Regions from separate parts of the Homo sapiens genome. Here region 1 is linked to region 2. Evidence: promoter capture Hi-C in 16 types of primary human blood cells and fetal thymus (Javierre and others, 2016). All regions are on one chromosome and are shown on one strand. Each heading gives the region's core, a stretch centred on a gene start or on the middle of the fragment in contact. The rest is flanking DNA. Distances are from core to core; before and after follow the strand shown. Region 1 has its middle 30 kb from the start of GUCY2D. Region 2 holds the start of ALOX15B (arachidonate 15-lipoxygenase type B).

Evidence for each region. Contacts are between HindIII fragments. The CHiCAGO score rates a contact against its expected background, and 5 or more counts as called.
Region 1: a fragment that was not itself captured here is called in contact with the fragment with the promoter of ALOX15B in region 2 in 1 of 17 cell types (endothelial precursors); the score reaches 6.0 in endothelial precursors.

What each region holds. Positions count from the first base shown.
Region 1 is chr17:7,971,111-7,974,909 of GRCh38, reverse strand. No RefSeq gene overlaps it. Among named protein-coding and RNA genes, the nearest start is that of GUCY2D, 30 kb to the left of the region's middle. The HindIII fragment of the contact is 1,495 bases long and covers 889-2,383 here.
Region 2 is chr17:8,037,144-8,040,790 of GRCh38, reverse strand. ALOX15B (arachidonate 15-lipoxygenase type B) reads right to left here and starts at 1,732. Exons shown (of 14, transcript NM_001141.3): 1 at 1,489-1,732; 2 at 1,186-1,405; 3 at 808-889. The coding sequence starts at 1,635. The HindIII fragment of the contact is 10,323 bases long and covers 1-2,936 here.

The sequences.
Region 1 (3,799 bases), core at 387-2,886, 66 kb after region 2:
AGACTGATCTCCCATCTCCTTGGTGGCAGTGCCTGATTATAGCCTTCTTCTCTGGCAATACTTGTTGTCTCAGTGATTGGCTTTCTGTGCAGTAAACTGATCCCCTGACATTTCAGCAACAGCATTACAGAGAAACCTCATTTCCACCCTTGCCTCCTTCACTTTTCCCCTCTCTCCTTCCACCTGAGGTAACATTTTTACAGAGATGTATTCTGACCATTTTTTCTTCCCTAAGTGGCAGCATATGCTTTACTGTTCTGAAAAGTGCTTTTTTCACTTAGCAATAATAAATCAGGAACCTTTTCTACATAAGTTCATAGACATCTTCCTCTTTCTTTCTTATAGCCAATATTATATTTAATCCATTATGTGGCTGGACCATAAATTATTCAGTAAGTCCCCATTACTAGACACTTGAATTGTTTCCACTCTTTTGCTATCACAGTGTCTCAATTAATACCCTTGTGCTATGTCATTTCATTTTTATGCATGGATTGGTATTTCATGAACATATCTTATATATGTGCCCCATATGCTGGGTTAAAGCATAAATGCAAAGAGTCTCTGTTCCCTTAAAGCTTCACCAGGCCAGGCGTGGTGGCTCACGCCTGTAATCCCAGCACTTTGGGAGGCCGAGGCAAGTGGATCATGAGGTCAGGAGATCGAGACCATCCTGGCTAACATGGTGAAACCCTGTCTCTACTAAAAACACAAAAAATTAGCCGGGCATGGTGGCGGGCACCTATAGTCCCAGCTACTCGGGAGGCTGAGGCAGGAGAATGGCCTGAATCTGGGAGGCAGAGCTTGCAGTGAGCCCAGGTCGCACCACTGCACCCCAGCCTGGGCAACAGAGCGATACTCCGTCTCAAAAACAAAACAAAAAAAGCTTCACCAACAGAGTACATTGTCCAACTTTAGGATTTGGGGATTTTTACCAATCTGTTTGGTAGAAAAAAATGGTGTCTCACTATAGTTTTAATTTGCATTTGTTTTATGAGAAAGGTTGAACTTCTTTTCATGAATTTAAAGACTTTTTATATTTTTGGTGTGTAAACTATCTCTTTATGTCCTTTGCTCTTTCTGTTTTGGATTGGTGGTGTGTGTAGTTTTTTTTTTTTTTTTTTTAGATGGAGTTTTGCTCTGGTTGCCCAGGCTGGAGTGGAATGGTGCAATCTTGGCTCACCACAACCTCTGCTTCCTGGGTTCAAGCAATTCTCCTGCCTCAGCCTCCTGAGTAGCTGGGATTACAGGCATGTGCCACCACGCCTGGCTAATTTTGTATTTTTAGTAGAGATGGGGTTTCTCCATGTTGGCTAGGCTGTTCTCGAACTCCTGACCTCAGGTGATCCTCCCACCTCGGCCTCCCAAAGTGCTGGGATTACAGACGTGAGCCACCGTGCCCAGCAGTGGTGTGTGTGTTTTTTTTAAACTGCATTGGTGGTCTTTTTCTTCTCAATTTCTAGAAGCTCTTTGTAAATTACAGCATTAGCCCTTGGTCTTTTGCTTGTTTGTTTGTTTGTTTTTGAGACACAGTCTCACTCTATCCCCCAGGCTGGAGTGCAGTGGCGCAATCTCGGCTCACTGCAACCTTCGCCTCCTGGGTTCAAGTGATTCTCATGCCTCAGCCTCCCCTGAGCAGCTGAGATTACAGGCATCTGCCACCATACTCAGCTAATTTTTGCATTTTTAGTAGAGACGGGGTTTCACCATGTTGGCCAGGCTGGTCTCGAACTGACCTCAGGTGATCTGCCTGGCTCGGCCTCCCAAAGTGCTGGGATTACAGGTGAGAGCCACCATACCCAGCCAGCCCTTGGTCTTTGATATGAGTTGCAAGTACTTATTCCAGCTCTTTTTATGTATTTTGCCTTTTATTTATAACTTTATTTATTTATTTATCTATCTATCTATCTATTTTGAGATGATGTCTCGCTCTGTCGCTCACGCTGGAGTGCAATGGCGTGATTTCAGCTCACTGCAACCTCTGCCTCTCAAGTTCCAGCGATTCTCCTGCCTCAGCCTCCCCAGTAGCTGGGATTACAGGGAACACTACCACATCCAGCTAAAATTTTTTTTTTTTTTTTGTATTTTTAGTAAAGACAGGGTTTCTCCATGTTGGCCAGGCTGGTCTCAAACTCCTGACCTCAAGTGATCCGCCCGCCTCGGCCTCCCGAATTGCTGGGATTACAGGTATGAGCCACCGCGCCCAGCCTTTATATAAAAGTTTAATGAAACATTTTATTTTGAGATAAATATAGATTCAAATACAGTGGTTAAAAAAAAATATGGAGCCATCTCATATATCCTTAGTCCAGTGCCCCCAGTGGTAACATATTACAAAACTGCAGTACAATATAGTTATAATTTTTTTTGCCATACAAAAGCTTTTTCTTGCTGTTTTTAACATAGTGGAATATATCAGTCTTTTTATGGCTTCTGGGTTTTGACTCTAAGACTCTCTTGCAATATTTGTGTCACTGCTAGAGGGATCAGTTACTTCCATGACTCTCTTAGACTTAGTTCCTCAGGGAAAAGGAATTCCTGGAGAGTTGCCTCTTGGCCTCCACCATGACTTTTGCTCTCCCTACAGAGCCTACTGCCCCACCCTCTGGCCTTGGCCTTGGTAGTGCAGTTTCTGGCCACACAGACAATTCAACTTAGCTGGAGATGCTGGTGCTGGAGTCTCCTACTGAGTCTTGAAGGTTCTACACATGAGCCCTTCTGGCTGGTGAGTCACTACCGTCAGGTCGGGTACCTGGGCTGGTGGGGGTGGCAGTGCCATTTCTGGTGCCCTGTCTGTCCAGTGCCCCCTTGGCCTGGGGCAAACCTCTTGATGGTTGGTTCTTCAACTCCAGGAGCCTCTTCCTCTCGACAACTCTCCTGCCTTTTCTTCCCACTACAGATTCAGGGGCTTTGAAGTCAAATCCATCCCCAGGCTGCTATCGACTACCTGGCATTTCTACTGCTTAAGCCACAATCACAGGGCTTCCTACACTTGACCTGTAATTGAATTTCCTTGGGAACTCAATGACAAGATTGATTCAGCCTAATTGAGTCAATGATCAACTCTCCCTGCTTTTATCTAGTCCTTGTTTCTGCCTGGGGATGCCTGGGCTGAGGCTATGAGACTTTCACAGTTTTTGTTTAAAGAGTTAAAAGCCGGCTGACGCCTTTTTTATTTTTTCCCACCTATTTGCATTTTGGCAACTGACACCTCTTAAAAACCATTTATTTAAAAGATCCTGCAGAACATAACCTTTCTTCACCTTCTGTCTAAGCCAGCTGAGGTCAGAGGAAACGCCTGTTTTTAAACTTGTGTGTGTTCTCCTCATATGAATGTTAAAATGCAATTCTAAGAAATACAAAAGGCCAGGTATAGTGGTATGCACCTGTAATCCCAGCACTTTGGGAGCCTAATCCGGGAGGATTACTTTTTTGAGCCCAGGAGTTTGAGGTTGCAGTGAGCTGTGATGGTCCCATTACACCCCAGCCTGGGTGCCACAGTGAGACCCTGTCTCTAAGGTAAAAATTTTAAAAAGGAAGAAATTAAAAAGTCCAGCCTCAAAAGCAGGTTTGGAAATGAATGAAAAGTCAGCTTTTGGGTGGTTCTTAAAAATTTTTTTTTAAATTTATTTTGAGACAAGGTCTCACTCTGTTGCCCAGACTGGAGTGCAGTGGCGTGATTTCAGCTCACTGCAACCTCAACCTCCCGGGTTCAAACAATTAGGGTGCCTCGGCTTCCTGAGTAGCTGGGATTACAGGCATATGCCACCATACCCGACTAATTTTTTTTGTATTTTTA
Region 2 (3,647 bases), core at 483-2,982:
CCTGGGGCTTGAAGGGCGTGTTTCTGGCTCTACTCAGATTTCTGGGAGGACACAACAAGCCGATGCATGAAAAAGTCCCAGGGCAAGGAAGACACCAGCAAAGGTAAGGCATTTAAAGCAGTTTCTTTCTCTTTCTTTTCTTTCTTTCTTTCTTTCTTTCTTTCTTTCTTTCTTTCTTTCTTTCTTTCTCTCTCTTTCTTTCTCTCTTTCCTTCCTTTTCCTTCCTTCCTTTTTTTTTTTCTTTTTTTGAGATGGAGTTTTGCTCTGTCCCCCATGCTGGAGTGCAATGGCGTGATCGGCTCACTGCAACCTCCACCACCCGGGTTCAAGCTATTCTTCTGCCTCAGCCTCCCATGTAGCTGAGAATACAGGTGCCCGCCACCCTACCCAGCTGATTTTTGTATTTTTAGTAGAGATGGGGTTTCGCCCTGTTGGCCAGGCTGGTCTCGAACTCCCGACCTCCAGTGATCCGCCTCCCTCAGCCTCCCAAAGTGCTGAGATTACAGGTGTGAGCCACCACGGCACCTGGCCCTAGAGCAGTGTTTTTCAAACATCAGTGGCCACCAGAGTCATCTGGAAGGCTTGTCAAAACAAAAATTCCCACTCTACACCCTCAGTGTCGTAGTAGGTTGGAGGTGGCCTGAGAATTTGCATTTCTAATACGTTCCTGTAGACGCTGCTGATCCCAGGAGCAGCTTTGATAGGAGAGGTGGAGGCAGGGGCTTTTAATCTCTGTCATGACCAGGACACTCAAGCTGCCCCTCATCGTTTGGGCACACCCTCCCCCATCAGTAACCCCCTCCTCACTGGTACATCTCCTGCCGGGCCTGAAGCTCCTCCTGGCGCTGTTGCTGGAGCACAGGGTGGTGGTCTGCCCAGGACACCTTGGCTGTGGGAGAAGGGGAGTAGGTTGGGGTGGGGAGAGAAACTCACCATCACTACCACCAGCCACACAGTCTCCACGATTGCCACCCTCTACCAGGTCCCCTCCTCCCATAAGTACAGTTTCTCCTACACCAGGCTGCTACCTCCCGCTCCCCAAGGCTCCGCCATTCCCTCTCCTCTGCCCGCTACTCTGTGGCCACACCAGCTCACCTCTCCATTTCACCTGCCCTTCTCCCCAACCCCCAGTCCCCTACCCCTTCCTGTGCTCCCCCTGCAGCCCCAGCCCGGCCCGCCCCTCACCTGTACCCTCCTGCAGCACCAGGGTCCCCGCCCCCTCCAGCCACTGGTAGCAGGGGAAGAGGAGGTGGCCGCCCCGCGGCGGTGTCAGCTGGAACCAGCGGCAGAACCAGGCATCCGGGGCCAGGGGCCCCAGCAGGGGCAGCACTGGGGGCGCCTTGTGCACGCGCAGCAGCAGCACTCGGCCTACGTCCTCCGGGAGCGTCACCTGGAAGTCCTCCTCCTGAGGGGAGGTTAAGTATGCGTCAGGCCGGACCCTCCTGCTCGCCCCCTTCACCTCCACCCCATCCACTCCCACGCACTCACAGCGCCCGCAGTGAACTCCTTGCCGAGATTGTCCAGGGGCAGTGGGGGGCTCTCTCCCCGGGTCCCCACGATGCTGACAGACACTTTGTCCCATGTGCCAGCCCCGAAGGCTTCTCCGGTGGACACCCTGACCCTGAACTCGGCCATGCTGCCAGCCTAAGTCCAGCTCTCTACGGCGCACAGGGCTGCAGAGCGGGGCTCCCCCCTGGGACACGCCTGGTTATTGCCCCTGGTTATTGCCACTGACTCCAAGCCCAGTGGACTCCTCTAAAAAGCACGTCCGTTTCAGGGCGGGGAGGGGCGGGGCGGAGAGGCTGGAACACGCAACTAAAGTGGGGGTGGGCGGGGGATTGGCAGCGCTGGGAACAGGAGGGACTAAGAATACCCTGAGGTTTGGGGAACGGGGCCTTTCAGTGGTGGTGCCAGGCCAGAGAGCCTAGAGTTGGGACCCAGTTGGGGTGGGGGTAGATTTGTGCCCACCACGTCTGTTTGTTTTCCTTCTTAGCCTTAGAAGTCTATGCAAAAATATCACCCCATTTCCCACAACTCTTCTTGGGCCTGCGTTCATTATTTTTAAAATTTATTTATTTATTTATTTTTGAGACAGAGGCTTGCTCTGTCGCCAGGCTGGAGTGCAGCAGCATGATCTCGGCTCACTGGAACCTCCTCCTCCTGGGTTCAAGTGATTCTCCTACCTCAGCCTCCCCAGTAGCTGAGACAACAGGCGAGTGCCACCATGCCCAGCTAATTTTTGTATTTTAGTAGAGACGGGGTTCCACCATGTAGGCCAGGATGATCTTGATCTCTTGACCTCATGATCCGCCTGCCTCGGCCTCCCAAAGTGCTGGGATTACAGGCGTGAGCCACCGCGCCCAGCCTACATTCATTATTTTATTTCATTCAATAATTAATGTTCAGAACTACCTCTGTGCCAGGTGCTATGCTCACTGCTATTGATAAAGGCCCAGGCAAGACCTAGTGCTTGCTCTCATGGAGATTAAAAATCAAGTGTGAGGCCAGGCACAGTTGCTGGCCAACATGGTGAAACCCCATCTCTACTAAAAATACAAAAAAATTAGCCAAGCGTGGTGGCGGGCGCCTGTAGTCCCAGCTACTCAGGAGGCTGAGGCAGGAGAATAGCTTGAACCCGGAAGGCGGAGGTTTCAGTGAGGTGAAGTTGTGCCATTGCACTCCAGCATGGGCGACAGAGCAAATCTCGGTCTAAAAAAAAAAAATCAAGTGTGAGAGAAAATAAGTAAACCAACACATAATTTCAGATGATAATAAGTGCAATGAAGGAAATGAAACAGACTAATGTGAAGGAGTGAGAAGCAGAGGTGGGAAGGGAGGCGTTCAGAGCCTCAGAGGAGGTGAAAGGATCTGTCTGGGGAACAGAGTTTTGTGCAGAGGAAACTGTTCCTGAAGAGGCCCTGTGGTTAGGAAAAGCTTGGCTTGTTGGAGGAGGGAAAGGCAAGAGTGCAGTGAGGGAGGGATTTGGGGGAGAGATGCCAAGGGGAAGTTATGGATTTGGGCTTTGGGGGAATAACATAACAGATTTGGGGTTTTCGGTCTGGAGATGCTAAGTTTGAGATGGCCATTAGACATCCAAGTGGAGAACCCACGTCTGGGCATAGAGCTCAGGACTGCAGGTGTGCATCTTTGAGTCACAAGCACACAGGTACATCTATACCACAGGCTGGTGGAGATCACTAGGCAGAGAATATCCTATAAGTAGAGAAGAGAAGAGGCACAAGCTGTGCCCTAAGGTCCTCTGATATTTGGAAGTCATGCAAAGGAGTGGAAGCAGCAAAGTTCAGTCAATGAGGTAGGAGGAGAACGATGCCGGCAGACACTTTGTCCTCTTGTGCCTGTCACAGTGTTTCATGAAAGCCAACTGAAGTGAGAGTGACTTATCATGTATATTCCATATATACCATGGAATACTATACAGCCATGAAAAAGAATGAGATCATGGTCAGGCATGGTGTCTCACACCTGTAATCTCAGAACTTTGGGAGGCTGAGGCAGGCAGATCACGAGGTCAGGAGTTCGAGACCAGCCTGACCAACATGGTGAAACCCCATCTCTACTAAAAATACAAAAATTAGCTGGGTGTGGTGGTGACTGCCTGTAATTCCGGCTACTCAGGAGGCTGAGGC